Linked DNA regions of Homo sapiens: all the other regions are linked to region 4. The links are contacts of gene promoters, found by promoter capture Hi-C in blood cells and fetal thymus (Javierre and others, 2016). All regions are on one chromosome and are shown on one strand. The core of a region is centred on a gene start or on the middle of the fragment in contact, and the rest is flanking DNA. Distances in the headings are between cores, read along the strand shown.

Region 1 (3,494 bases), core at 677-3,176, 2.9 Mb after region 4:
TAGGAATTACAAATACACACAAGTGAACATCTCAATTATCTCCAAATATATTTAAGAAGAGGAAAGAATTCAGCAACTGCTCTTAGCATTTTATCTCCCGGCACATTATCTCCAAAACCAAAACAAGCCGATCCTATTCATGCTGAAGAAACAGACCCATGCTTCTTATGTGATTAGGAGACAGTGTCTCTTTCAGAGCAAAATGCCCCACAGCTGTCACTATTTACGATTCAAACTGAAGAACTGCGGCTGCCAGCAAACCAAACTTTTATTAGTATTAGTTAGAGTAATTCAAAGATACAGCAATTGTCTTGACATGACAAATTGTCTATGACTAGAGAGGAACTAAAGAGAATCAACAGACCTAAAAGGATTCAAGCAGTTTTAAGAAAACAAGCTATCTAATGTTCAAAAAAGTTTATTAACTTTTATTTGTTAGTAAAGATCATGATAAAATTCAGGATTTTTAGTTTTGAGTCATTTTATATTCTTTGCATACAACATGGACGTTCTGTTTTTTTAAGCTTTCTTAGTGGCTGAAAGTTCTTTTCAAAGGCCCCCAGTATGAAGGTTACTGTTTCCTTCCCTCATCTCCTTCCTCAATCTGCCCAAGTTGCACTCTGCAATGATGGAAGCTGCAGGTGTGCGGCAGAGCTTTCTCTCCGCTACTTTTTAAAAGTGAAACTGGACTCATTTCACATTTCTGGAGAAATAAAGCCTACAAAAAGGGGAGTAAGACAATGTAGCATGTGGCCTGCCTGCAGGCCAGGAGCTCCTGCAGCAGGTGCCCTCCTGAGCTTTCCTCCAGCAAACAGGGCCTGCAAATTATCCCTGCACCTCATTCTGGCCACCACAGTGTGTGCTCACCCCGGAGGGTACAGAGCCCAGTGCCCTCCACCCTCTCTCCCTAGCTCCTGCTCAAGCTCCTCCCTATGCTAAAGGTCTTCAGTCATACCCCTCCCCTCCTGCTCTACCTTGTCCAAACAGTCGCTGAGCTCCACAGTTTAACTTGAATGCCATTTCCTCCAGACCCCTAGAGCACTAAGACTTTTTTCCATGTACTATGTTATCTGTGAACCAGCAGGAGCAATGTGGGATGTCCTGCACGTGGGCTCTGGAGTTAACAGAGGTGGGTTCTAAGTCAGGGTCATCACTTGCTTACTGAGCAACCTCGGCCAAGTTACTTATCCTCTTTGGGTTTTTTGTTAGTTTGTTCGTTTGTTTGTTTGTTTTAGACAGGGTCTTGCTCTGTTGGCCAGGCTAGGGTGCAGTAGCAAGATCACGGCTCACTGCAGCCTCAACCTCCCAGGCTCAATCAATCCTCCAACTTCCCAAAGTGCTGGGATTACAGGCATGAGCCACAGCATCCAGCCAACTTTATACTCTTCCCCCACTCCCCACCCACCTGGGTCTCACTCTGTCACCCAGGCTGGGGTTGGCTTACTGTAGCCTTCACCTCCCAGGCTCAAACAATCCTCCTACCTCAGCCTCCCGAGTAGCTGGGACTAGAGGCACGTGCTACCACGCCCAGCTAATACTTACCCTCTTTGAAGTGGAATCTACATCAGTAAAATGGGAGCACTTCCCAATCAAGGCTGATGGGATTAAAACTGAGCATGTACCAAATGTAGCATCATGCCTGGCGCACAGTGAATGCTTCACAAATTCAAGGAATATCATCACCATCACCTCTCTTAATTATAAATGCCTTGAGTACATGAACTGCAACATTCAATTCTGTATCCATATATATGCAAGAAAAGCTCACAGTTAACCCCTTAACTCGTGTTCATTACATTGAATTGATGAACCATTACCCAAGTACAAAAAGCACCAAAAGCTCCCACTTGAATAACCGTAAATCTAGCGACAGGGTTGCTTATGAGGAACAATGACTGTATCTCAGTTTGGGTTCTGCGGTTGGTGTGTGAACTGCCTCTCCTGTTTCGGGACTAGGTTTTTTCTGCCTCCAGCATGACGTCAAACCCTGGACTTGTGCTGCACTGCTCCCTGGATCCAGACATTAAAACCAAAGCCAGTGACCGCCGAGCACAGCAGCTTCCCCCACATGGGCCATGACTGCTTCCTCCGACCAAGGAAGTGCTTGGGCAGCTTCCTTCCAGAACACTTGTTCGTCTGTTCACTCACTCAAACACTCATTTACTCATTCCTACTCAGACTGTTCTGTACAGGATTTAAGGTAGTTAACAACAGCAAAACATACACACACACACACACACACACACACTCTCTCTCTCTCTCTCTCTCTCTCTCTCTCTCTTTCTCTCTCTTAAAAATGAAACCTCAGGGCCAGGAAATTTGTAAGATACATTTTAGGATGAAAAATAAAAACACAACCACGAGAGGTCAAATCTCAGCATAAGAAACCCCAAATGACTTGTTTTAAGCTAATATAAAAGTAGATGCTCAATACAAATACTTAACTCTTTCTGGGCATGAAATAAGAGGCTGTAGCCAGGAACATTTTGTGTTCTACACAGATTCTGTTTGCAATGTTATTTACTCTAACAGGATGCTTGGCATTAAAATGCTTGCTGGCAATTTCAGATTTAGAATGCAGAGTAGGTTAACAAATAAAGTCCTACGGTCCACGTATGCCACAGCTGACTACACAACATCACAGCATCAACTGATCCTGAACTGCTCTATGTAAGTGAAAAAGACTAGTGCCCCGTGAGTGAAATGAGGCTCTGTCAGGCTACAAATGTAGAATTTTGATATATTTACCCTATCCAAGATGTTTTAAGTTTTCTTCAAATGCAGTTGAGAATTATTTGCGTATTACAAATTAATACTGACAACACATCGAGGATTTAATAAAACATTTCTAGGGTAAAACAAATCTATTTCTTCTTTCTCCAGTATTGTATCTTCTCTCTTCCCAAAAGTACTGTAGTTTTAATCCACTTTACCTTTAATCTGAATCCCTATGCTTTACACTTTCATGATTTAAAAAGAAAAAAGTCAACATCTCTTTTTTCCTGAAATGACTTACCTTCAGTCATACAGAATACTCGGAGAAAAGCCAAAAGCTGAGCAGAGATGGGCGGCTCGGTAAAATGCAATGCAAAAACACTGGAACTGATAAAAGCAGAAAGCAAGATCAGTCACCCTGCTGCGGTTACCCACTTGCTCCAAACTGAGATTCCTTAAGTCTACAGCACGTGTGGTTGTCCTCAAGGAGAGCTGAGCTGGAATGGGTCATTCCAGCTCCTCATCTCAACTGTGAGCACGATTTTCAGCCCCTGCAAAAGGCCGCAGGCTGGGGCGGAGGCAAGCGGACATCCAGAATTGGAGACCATCCTCACAAGCTTTTCCTAGAGCCTAACAGCTGTAATCTCAGGTTGCACATAATACATTCAAAAATTAAACATACACATGGTTTTTAAAAAGTGTTAACAATAATTTATGTTGAGTTCACACTTTAATCATTAATCAAATATTGACAAGTTCAATAAAAAAAAGGTCTGCAT
Region 2 (3,749 bases), core at 488-2,987, 2.9 Mb after region 4:
CTTTCAGTGAAAATACGTTACCCCATCATAAGGATAACCAAAATAACCACATCTTTTAGCCTTTAACTGCTTAAAATATATGCCCATGTTTTAAAAAACAGGACATAATGAAATAAATGTAATATTTACTGTGCTACTCTTGTGAGTAAGTGTGAAAACTGTAGGATGAACTATATCTGCAAAAAAGTAGGAAAAGGAACAGGTGTTAAACTTTCAAGAAAGATTTTGCTTAATCTCAAAAGTTATCAAAGTAAAATAGCTATTATTTTATAGAAAACGATAAAGGAGGCCAAGGCATAAAGTGGTATAATTTTATCCTTGATGTACTAATGCACATTTCTGCAGCTTCAGAGCCACTTTAATCTCATCTTAAAGCTTCCCAGCAAAGCTTCGTCCGTCAACTCCCCAAACCTGCACTGTGTGTCTGCTGCGTGCAAGGCATTGTGGGGGGACAATGAGCAAGATGAGTTCCCTGCTTTTAAGGAGCCAACGACTTTGGAGCAGGGAGCCCAGACAGGCAAACTGTGACGTGTCACACCAGGATACATGACACGTGCTGGAATTCAGAAAAGAAGCTGCAGTCACTGTCGGGAAGAGGGGGATCTGGCAATGACTCACAGAGGAGGTGGCATGCGAGTTAAGTCTCTAAAGATGGGCAGGATTTTCCATGTGGGAAGGGAGACATCCCAGACAGAGAGTACCGGAAATGGCAGAGGCAGGGAAAGGAGGGCTTGTTAAGGGAAGCTGAGCAGCTGGGGTTTGCAGAATCGATTGGCACACAGAGGGATGAAAAGGTGCAATGCCAGTGCAGTCCCAACACATGAGGCCCTGCAGAGGGTGGCACAGTGCCCACGGCAGGAGCATTAGAGTATTAGCTATGTGGCCCCAAGCAGTGCTACCCATCTGGTCTGTTACTTCACATGTAAAATGAAGACAATCCCTGCTACCAGAGTTTGCTGGCACTTGAGAGGTGTCAGTAAGTTAGTATCCATCCAGGAACAAGGACTTTGTAGACACTGAGCACCCCCTGGTCTTCAGCATTTAGGAAAAGTAATCTGCCAAAGGATGAATCAAAACAAGTGGTGGAGGGGTTGGGTGCAGTGGCTCACACCTGTAATCCTAGCATTTTGGGAGGCCCAGGAGGGCAGATCACTTGAGGTGAGGAATTCGAGATCAGCCTGGGCAGCAGGGCAAAACTCCATCACTACCAAAAAATACAAACATTAGCTAGGTGTGGTGGCACACACCTGTAGTCCCACCAACTCGGAAAGCTGAGGTGGGAGGATTGTTTGAGCCAAGGAGGTGGAGTTTGCAGTAAGCCGAGATCATGCCACTGCACTCAGCCTGGGTGACAGAGTAAGTCCCCGTCTCAAGAAAAAAGAAAGAAAAACAAAACAAGTGATGGAGGAAGTGAGAAAATGTGGGGAGGGGGTAGGTGAAGTTTGAGAATCTGATAAAATCTATGGGCCTGATGTGGCAAGGAACTGAGGGTGGCCTCTAGCAACTGCCAGCAAGAAACCCAGGCACTGATGAACTGAAGCCTGCTGCCAATCACAGGAGTGGGCATGGAAGGCACCCTTCCCCAGTCACACCTTCAGATGAGACCACACCCTAACTGCAGCTTTGAGAGAGACCCTGCAGCAGACAGCCCAACTAAGCCATGCCTGCCTTTCTGACCCACACAAACTGTGAGATAATAAATGTGTGTTTTAAGCCTCTAAGCAGCAAAGAAAAAAAAATTTTAATTATGAACTTCTGGGTGTACTTCTCAAAAAAATTCACACAAACATATGACTATTAGTCAAGATGGGCTGGAATCTGCCATAATACGGTGTCTCCAGGAGTCATTTCTCACTCACTGCATGCTCCCTGGGTGCTGCCTGTGCCTCTGCTCCATGGGATCTCCACTCCATGATCCAGGAACCCAGTAAATGTTAGTGCCCTTCTGCACTGAACTGTTCTGTTCACAGGAACCAAACATATTTGCAGGAAAAAAAGAAGAGGATTTAAAAGGATGAAGAAAAAAGAAAGACACAAGGGAGGGCAAGTAAGTGACAGAACACAGACACAGGAGGCATCACACCACCAAGGGCACAGGCTGGACAAGAAAAGAAAAGTGAAGAAAAGGAGCACTGGTGAGACGCAGGGGAAACTCTGAGATGGAATGGAAAGAAGCCAAGAAATCTAAACATAAACAGAGCACCCCGATTCTCTTAAACGGGATGTAAGAGACTTTGCTTAGGGTGCGAGGCATTTGGTCTGTTTCATGATTGTCATTAATATGGTTATACCATTTCTTGTCTCTTTTGTTTCCATATATGTTCAGCATTCACTCAGTCATCTGATAACTAACATCCTATTTCAGTCCTAAATTTATGGGTTTTGGATATATCCAAGTTCTTTGAAACATGTGCTCTGTACTCCAGACAGACACTGGCTAGTTAAAACGTGAGGAAGAGGTGCCTCAACACCAGGAGTCTTGAACAGAAGCAAATCCAATATAGAAACCCATCTGAATCTTTTTAAGTCCCAAAGTTACTTATGAAAATCAAGTAATTTTAAGGCCTCCATAAGGCCTACCTTATATGCTTAAGGATTTATTTTGGTCTCCTCAATTCCACACACCTGTTTTCATTCTTTGAAACAGATGAAAACTGTGAAGTATAGAGGAAATGGTAAGATATTCTGGAGTGGGTCCAAAGACAAGCAGTCACTACCCCCAGCCATTAAACGAGAGGGGAGGGGGAGTGAGCCCAGCCTTGATGGCTCAAGATGGGCCTGATGGGCCCAGAGAGGGAAGCCCAGGAAACAGCGTTTTCAGTAAGTTTCCCAGGTGACTTATGCTCACTCGAGTTGAATCCAGGAACCAAGTTTAGCACTGGCTCCCACTGAGGAGGAGAAGAGTAAAGAAAGATCTCTGCTCTCTGAATAAAGCCCTCCCTGCCCTGGGTGCACAGATATGCACACACACATGCACAATGGGAGTGAAGTCTGGGAGAAGCTGAATTTCACACTGAGGTTTCTGGCCCATCCAGATCTGCCCACTTGAGGTTCTGGGTCACTGAAACCCTGTCAAACAGAATATGTGAAGCTTTAATTTTCTACCTGATGCTAGTTTATATTTTCTAGTGTTTTCTATTCCATGTATATATGACTTAAAATTCAAAAATAATTTCATGTTTTTAAAATAGGGAAAAAAGTCAAAGGTTTCTGACACCAGCACCAAAGACTCCAGCTATATTAATTACTTGTTCCTCAGGGTATTTAATACACCTTTTGACCTGACCTGCAAACAACGAACATTTATTCAACAGACATTTATCAAGTGCCAAACATTAGGCTAGGAACTGTAGCCAGGAAGGGAGTTTGCTCTCAGGCCTCTAGGGGCTCACGTGGCGCCACTGAGGAAATGAGGGAGAGGAAGCAGGTGATGCATCAGCGAGTGACTGAACCTGGCACTGCTGAGCCCAGGCGCCACCTTCTCCTCTCACAGCAGATCCTCCACGAGCACCATGCCCACCTGCCCACAAAGGGCTGGCAACCAGGACTAAATATTCCAGGACAAACCTCACCTGGGTCCAGCGGACTGGTCAGTATGTGCAGACATGGGGCAGGTCCTAAATTTCACTCACTCAAATCAGCTCTAATCTAACAGTAACAATAAAAGTAACAATGAACACTGAGTGCCTACTGTGTGCCAGACACAATAAAATGTCCTAAGCATCTTCTATGTATTAACAAATGTAAAC
Region 3 (3,786 bases), core at 1,035-3,534, 2.8 Mb after region 4:
TGTGATTTCAAGCCTTTGGAATCACTGAAACAAGAATAGCTTCTATAATATGGATGTGGCAATAACATTTCCCATTTGAACTTGTGACAAAGCCCCTCTGCCTGCCTCTCTCTCTCTCTCTCTTTCTCCCCCGCTTCTACCCACCCCGCCGGCCCCATCACACACACACACACACACACGTATCATGAAATTAACACTAGACAGGAGCAAAAAAGATCATCTCTGACCACTCTGATGATCTGGATTCTAAATAAGGCAGATTTATGGTCAATTATTTTAAATCTGTATTTGGACCTCTGGATTCAAATGGGTAGATTCATCAGCTGTTGGGATTCAGCACAGGCATCTGCAGTTTCATTATTTGTATCTGCTTAACAGGAACAATTAGAGACTGAAGAGTGAGGACGCCTGTTTGGGGACCGGTTTGGTATTGTACCCAGACCACACATTCCGGCTGGGAAGGAACACAGTAATGTATAAAGCATTAGTGGATTTAACGCTCTGCATTGTGCTTGGGGAATCGAATTGTTGATGTTTCTGGCAAGAACTCATACTCCAATTGAAATCTATCAAACACCTTAATTAGCTCCGGGTACCTAAATGCACCCAACCAAGAGGCAAGTTGGAAAGCAGCAGAAGGAAAGGGCAGGAGCTGGCACAGAGGTGTCATGGGCCTCCCTGGGTACCTTCAGCACCCTGTGGCCTCACTTTCCAGACCGGAATACATGGGCCATGGTGGAAAGTCAGACAACTTGCAGCTCTCACTGCAGCAGCCACAGGGATGTGATTGAAGGTGTTTGGATGGTTTGACCAGTGTTGGCTAAGGGGATGAGAAGAGGCCGCAGTGACACAAAGCTGTTGCCGATAATAACTGGAGCCTTTTTCTGAGCCAACCGTTCCACCTGGACCTCAGTACAAATTATTGTTTTCAATTACCACCTGTGTATTCCTTCCCATGCAACTTATTGATGTAAAATTACAGCTACACCGGTATAAATAAGTTATGCTGCAGTTGTAAAATGGAAGAAATTTTGTTGTAGCAATTATGTTCAGCAAGATGACAAAATAAATTTCCAGAGCTGTGCCTGCAGTAACCTGGGGAATTTAAACCTCATAATTTCCATTCATTTCAGATAATTTGGAGTAATTTCTATATGTAATAACTTTGTAATGAAAAACACAGCGGTACTGAAGTGATTTCGCTCCGTTTTTTTCTCCTATGGTATACATGGCACAAAATAAATGATAAAAATAATATTTCCTTTTTATATGTGTGTGTGTTGAGTAATTCCTTCAGTAAAAATCATAAACTAATACCCAGACTAAATCTCTGTCCACAAAATGAAAAATAAATTGAGTTAAAGAAAGTGAAAAAGTATGAAGGGCTTTGGATGCTTTATTGTGACTTTATTGAATTGTTTTGTTCCCATGCTCCCTCTGATCCCTAAGGGTTACAGTTCCCAAGTAAGGGGCAAATGCAGGGGAGCCCCAGATGGCTCAGAGGAGGTAGCAGGGGGACCCCCAAAGGCCAGGAAACCCTCGCCAGATGGTGATTTCTCCCCAGAAGCATAAGAGACTCGTTCTCCTCTTGAGATGAGCATCTTTAACGGTTGATTTCACTGCGACTGGAAAGGACCTGGTAGGCTGGTCAGTGGTCCTGTCAGTTCTGACATATTTCCTCCTTTAATTAAAGACAAGGCAAGGTGGAGCACCAGTGCCCTGCCCGACCTATGACGGTGACACCTGCCACTGATGTATGCAGCCCCTGAATGCCACGATTTATTCATCGGAAGCTCCCACTGAGCTGTGAGAAGGTGACAGGAATTACAGCAGCTGCATTAGCTCCCAGATCCACGCGATTAGCCTCTGCCACTGCCACGGTGCACATCAAGGGTTTCCTCAAAGTGAAAAATCGAGGCGTCATTCCCTAAAACCTGCCTGCTAGTAGTCACAGCTAGTGACTGTCAGTAGCCTCCCCACCAGCCATGAGGGCTGCCTGCTGCCTTGAAGTAGAATGGCTCCCCTGCCCTGCAAACCCTGGCCTGCTACATGCTGCCAGGGTGCCCATCTGGAAGCTCAGGCTTTGGCTGAGTCGGCTGGGGAAAGGGCATTCATTTCTCAGGCTCTGTGGTCTCCCTGTCAGATGGGCTTCACCGCTCTGTATAAGCGGTGATGAGTGGGTCTTAGCAAAGCGCCTGGCCCGGTCTCTCGCCATGCAGCAGTCGCATCATAAGCATGGCTGTGATTTGTTCCTTCAACAACACACGCGGATGGGACGCCTGCTGTATGCCAAGCACACCATGGGGGACAGGGCCCAAAGATGGCAATATTGTGAGGTGGTGGTACTGAGGTTCCAAGTTCAGGCAAGCCTGAATCTGACACACCACCCCAGCTCCAAAGAACAGAGCAAGGGAAAACAAAAGTTGATGACATAGTTCAGCAATTATAGTAGTGAGAGTACAGCCCATCACATGGACTCATGGCCATGTGTCCCAAGTGCCATGGGAGCAAAGCAGCAGGGCTCAGGGGTCCTGAGCACAGATTGCAGAATTCTTCCAAGACCCTCAAGACCTACTCATTCAAAGAGACACTCTGTCTAATTACATTGTGAGGCATTTATCTTATCTAATCCTCAGAAGAGAAAGACTTTCATCCCCCTTAGACAGGAAACCCGAAGTCAGCCACCACGAGGTAGAGCCCAAATCACCCCAGGTCTGTCTCTGTGTATAACCACTATGCCGTCCTATACCCAGGTTGGATTTCCAGCCATCCTGCAAGCCAATAACAGGCAGCTGAAAACATCACCAGATGTGGAACCAGAACAGCAAAGACAAAGTCAGTGCTGGATCGAGACATGGAGGAAGGAAGAGAATTACAGAGAAACAAAGTTTGCATTAAGGACACAGTATACTCAGTTAGTAGAAGAGATTTTGTTTGTTTGTTTGTTTGTTTGAGACAGCAAAATCCAACAAGACACACCACGGTTATGAAACCAGATAATTGAGGCAGAGAGAAATGGGGTGGAGAGAGTGGGGTAAGACAGACGTTTCTGCTGGTAAAATTTGAAACAGACAAACAACTCATGTTGGGACAGAGTTTTAGTGTACAAAGCCCTTTTGCTTCCCTGACTTGAGTTTGTCCTCCCAGCAGCCTGTGAGAAAAGCAGGACAGGGCACACACAGCTTGATATACGCCTCCGAGATCGCCAGGGTCAAGTCTCCGCTGCGCCCGCTGCTAGCTGCAAAAGCCTTCATGCGGTTTCTCTTCTCGACATCCCAGGTCCTCCTCTATCAACGCCTCTGTGAGCATCTCATCAGATGACCTCTCAGAAAGCCCCCAGCACAGGCCTGGCACAGAGGAGGCATTGAATAAATGATAGATATTATTATGGAGGCGTTTTACTCATGAAACAAGAGATTCACATTCAACTCAGTCTAAGGTACACACGTCAATATTTCAGGAATGAAATGGGAAATTTCCCCCAGATTTCACTGGTACATAATCGACTAATATTGATGAAGCATCTTGTCTCAGCGCTGCTGTAACAAAATACCTGAGACCGCGTAATGTATACAGAATAGATATTGCCGGGCGCAGTGGCTCATGCCTGTAATCCCAGCACTTTGGGAGGCCAAGGCGGGCAGATCACCTGAGGTCAGGAGTTCAAGACCAGCCTGGCCAACATGGTGAAACCCCATCTCTACAAAAATACAAAAATTAGCCAGGCATGATGGTAGGTGCCTGTAATCCCAGCTACTCAGGATGCTGAAACAGGAGAATCGCTTG
Region 4 (3,360 bases), core at 378-2,877:
ACCTCAGTCTCCGGAGTAACTGGGACCACAGGCAGGAACTACCATGCCCAGCTAATTTTTTTTTCTTTTTTCTTTTTTTTTTTTTTTTTTTAACTTTTTGTATAGACGGGGGTTTCCCTATATTGCCCAGGCTGGTCTCTAACTCCTGCCCAAGCGATCCTCCCACCTCAGCCTCCTAAAGTGCTGGATCACAGGTGTGAGACACCGTGCCCGGCTTACATTTTCTTTACTGCAATATATCCAAAATATTTCAACGTGCAATCAATATAAAAAGTGATCAGTGAGGTATTTCACATTCGTCGAACTGACACCCGTGCGTATTTTGCACTTCCAGTGCCTCCTAAACGAACTAGCCTCATTTCAAGTGCTCAGTGGCCCTAAGTGGCCAAGGGGCTACACTAATGGACAGGGCAGGTCTAGGTCCTGTGTTTTTCCCATTCGGAGTCACCAGTCCTACTAGACATTCTGTGAAAAAAGGGAAAGCCTTTGTGAAACTTCCTGAGGACTCACAAATGCACATTATTACATTTAGAGTTTAGAACTTTGGTTAAGGCAGCGTCCTGTATTTGATTCTTTCCCTCTTCCTCTCCGCTAACCCCCTATGTGACACCGTAGAACTTATAATTCGTTCTAATTCGCAGATGGAGGGCATATGAGAGAGGAGGCTCTGCCTCAAACACTTTCTCAAACTTTTGCCGAGGGGTGGCGAGAAGGTAGACTTCCAGGTCCCACCCGATATAGATTAAGGGCTGGAAACACAGTCAAGGGGAAATTATGACCAAGACAACCTTTGCTAAAATGCCAGCGGTGACTGCCATTGATGTTCCTATAAAAGGTCAGCTCTGTCAGGAAGTTCCAGTGCATCATTTGTTCAAAAGTAAAATCAGCCCGTGTTCCAGAATTCGCGGACTGTCGTCAGTCCTAACCTACACATTTATTCGTTCAACAAATATTTCAGCGCCTGGGTCAGGCATCAGGAATACACTGGTGGTTAAAACAGACGGAAAGCTCCATCTGGTGGGACGCAGTCTGGGAGGGAAAGGGAGTCCTGGGGACATGTTTTCGTCGGCTCTAGGCTAAGCACCTCTCGCCGTAGCACACGGGGTCGGCACCGCTGCCCGGCGAAGTACTTGTTACTTTGCAGTCCAGTACGAAGCGGCGGAGTAACCGGTTCCAACCCAAGGCAGCGACTCATGCGAGTCGTTCTAAGCGCCGCGCTGGGGGGTACATACGGTGCACGCGTGGGTGCCTCACCCCCTGGCAGCGCCTCCAGGGACGCTGCTCCGGGAAAGAGCAGCCGCCGCGACCTCAGGCGGCGGGAAAGGTGGGACCTCACAATGCGCCGGAAGCGGTGCCTCGTGGCTTGGGATCTCTCCGGGTTCTTCCTTGCGCCGTCCACGCCGCACTGCCCACGAGGGCGTCCCCGCCCGAGGGACAACTCACCGCCCGGGGCCTCCCTGAGCGTTCCCTTCCACCATCTGACACCCACTGCTAAGTGTGAGAGGACCCAGGGGGTAATTGCCGGGCCGCAGGCGGCCTTAGGAACTCCGCTTCCCGTGAGGCTTCGCGGCGGACGGCGCTGGTGCGCAGGCGCACGCACGGCGTGCGTGGTGGCGTCAGCAGTTCTAGAACGTTGCTGTGGTAGCGCTCGGGCGCCATGTTAGGACGAAGGGGAAGGAGGAGAAGCGCTTAAAGCGGCGGGAGCGGTGCGGGAGAGGGGTTGGACCCAGGGCTGAGGCAGGCCCCCCCCTCCCTCCCGCCTCAGTGGATCATGCCCAGGGCGGCAGCGGCGGCGGTTGCGGGGGGGAAGTGACTGGGCGGTGCCGGCGCCGGAGACGATGCCGTTGTAAGTAATTTGTATTCTGTTTTCTTTCGCTCGCCGGCTGGGCCTTGGGGGGCGTCCGGGAAGGGGAAGAGGTAGGCGGAGAGGGTGGCACGCGAGCCCGACCCTCCCCGCTGGTAGGAGGCAGGCAGGACTGGGGACCTTCCTGTTTCCTCGCTCGCTCGCCGCCGCACTTCCCCCCGTGTGCTGGGTTCCCGCGTCCCCCGACCCTTCCTGGCTGGGTCAGCTGCCGTCGGGCCGGGGGCCTTCCCCTTCCGGAATTGCTGGCGGAACCTCTAACTCGCCCGGCCACTCCAGCTTCTCCGCCCCGTCCACAAAGAAAATCAAAACAACCCGAAAACAAAACATTGCCTGGTGGTGGGGAACCACGACCCTGCTGCACGCGGGATCAGCACTTGGGGTTCGGGCTCGCTCTCGGCGCCCCTCGGGCCCATTCGATGTTGCTTTTCTGTTCCTGGTCTGTCTCAGTTTGCTCACTCTCTTCCTCCCATTTCCAGATGCCTGTCTTGTGCGCCGGAGTTAGCCCCTTTCCACTGACCTTGTCTGAATGTAGGAGCACGAGTTAAAAGCCCAGCTTTGAGCGTTGAGTCCGCCTGCCTCCACCTCCGCCTCCCTAGCATTCACAGGCGGTCGGAGAAGGGGGCACTTCACAGGGTGCCCTCCTCCAAAACGACTTATGTATTGCTTTCCCTGTTTTGTTTTGATGGGGTAACCAGGTTTCATTCTGTTTCCTTCTTTCTCTATCTCTGGTGATACTTTTTTTTTCCTGGTTGTAAGGCTTGAAGCTAGTCTCTTTATGCTTTCTAATGCCACTGCGCCTTTTTCTTTTCTTGGTGGGTTTTTAAAAAGTTTTTTTCTCCCCTCCCCCTTTCTGATAATGAGATATAATTTGGCAGCTCATTGCCAGTAGATTACGGATTTTTTTTTTCCTGCAAATATACAGCATTGTAGAGGCCTAAATAGTGAGACTGCATTTCTTCCATTTTTGAATATTGAAGCGTAAGAGTGCCTCTTTGAGACCAGGGACCGAGTTTTCTTCATCTTAGTAGCCTCAAAACGCAACATGTAATTGACACTCAAAGTTTTGGTTAAATTCAGGATAAAGATTTTTGTGGTTTCTAGACATCGAATGTAGTAACTCAGGTCTATTTTTTTTTTGTAAGTAAGGATAATTTCTTTAGCACATAATCACCGATTGTAGTTTTACAATTATATATGTGTGTGAATGTGTTTCTTTACAGGTGAGACTCTAACTTTGGCACAGACCTTAATGACTTCTATCGCAATTTATGTATTTTAAAAGGATTTTCCATGGCTCCCACCCACCCCCTTAGGTTATTAAGAAGTCTATCACATTACTTCTGTGATGAAAACGTTTGTTAGACTTAACTAACTATACAGGTCTAAAATCTTGGAATCTGCATGGTTTCTGTTTATTGATTTTTCCCTTTCATAGAATAAGAGACCCTAGGAGAACTGAGTCTAAGCAAGATTGTTGTGGTGTTTCTCAGTTCAAT

Evidence for each region. The method cuts DNA at HindIII sites, captures the fragments that hold promoters and counts their contacts. A CHiCAGO score of 5 or more calls a contact.
Region 1: a fragment that was not itself captured here is called in contact with the fragment with the promoter of PAPOLA in region 4 in 1 of 17 cell types (naive CD4 T cells); the score reaches 6.6 in naive CD4 T cells.
Region 2: a contact is called between a fragment that was not itself captured here and the fragment with the promoter of PAPOLA in region 4, in 6 of 17 cell types (total CD4 T cells, naive CD8 T cells, naive CD4 T cells and 3 more). The highest score is 12.7, in total CD4 T cells.
Region 3: a fragment that was not itself captured here is called in contact with the fragment with the promoter of PAPOLA in region 4 in 1 of 17 cell types (naive CD8 T cells); the score reaches 6.6 in naive CD8 T cells.

The regions. Positions count from the first base shown.
Region 1 is chr14:99,401,209-99,404,702 of GRCh38, forward strand. It overlaps SETD3 (SET domain containing 3, actin N3(tau)-histidine methyltransferase), which reads right to left. Exons shown (of 13, transcript NM_032233.3): 11 at 3,017-3,102. Among named protein-coding and RNA genes, the nearest start is that of SETD3, 78 kb to the right of the region's middle. The HindIII fragment of the contact is 2,808 bases long and covers 523-3,330 here.
Region 2 is chr14:99,427,274-99,431,022 of GRCh38, forward strand. The region is part of intron 6 of SETD3 (SET domain containing 3, actin N3(tau)-histidine methyltransferase); the gene reads right to left. Among named protein-coding and RNA genes, the nearest start is that of SETD3, 52 kb to the right of the region's middle. The HindIII fragment of the contact is 2,703 bases long and covers 387-3,089 here.
Region 3 is chr14:99,278,391-99,282,176 of GRCh38, forward strand. It overlaps LOC105370660 (a long non-coding RNA gene), which reads right to left. Exons shown (of 3, transcript XR_001750881.2): 3 at 1,621-3,347. Among named protein-coding and RNA genes, the nearest start is that of BCL11B, 8.1 kb to the left of the region's middle. The HindIII fragment of the contact is 8,266 bases long and covers 1-3,786 here.
Region 4 is chr14:96,500,755-96,504,114 of GRCh38, forward strand. PAPOLA (poly(A) polymerase alpha) reads left to right here and starts at 1,628. Exons shown (of 22, transcript NM_032632.5): 1 at 1,628-1,846. The coding sequence starts at 1,839. It overlaps PAPOLA-DT (PAPOLA divergent transcript), which reads right to left and starts at 1,572. Exons shown (of 1, transcript NR_122121.1): 1 at 894-1,572. RefSeq lists enhancers at 333-929, 930-1,524, 1,442-1,701, 1,525-2,120, 3,276-3,360 and silencers at 1,040-1,383, 1,822-1,941. The HindIII fragment of the contact is 10,690 bases long and covers 1-3,360 here.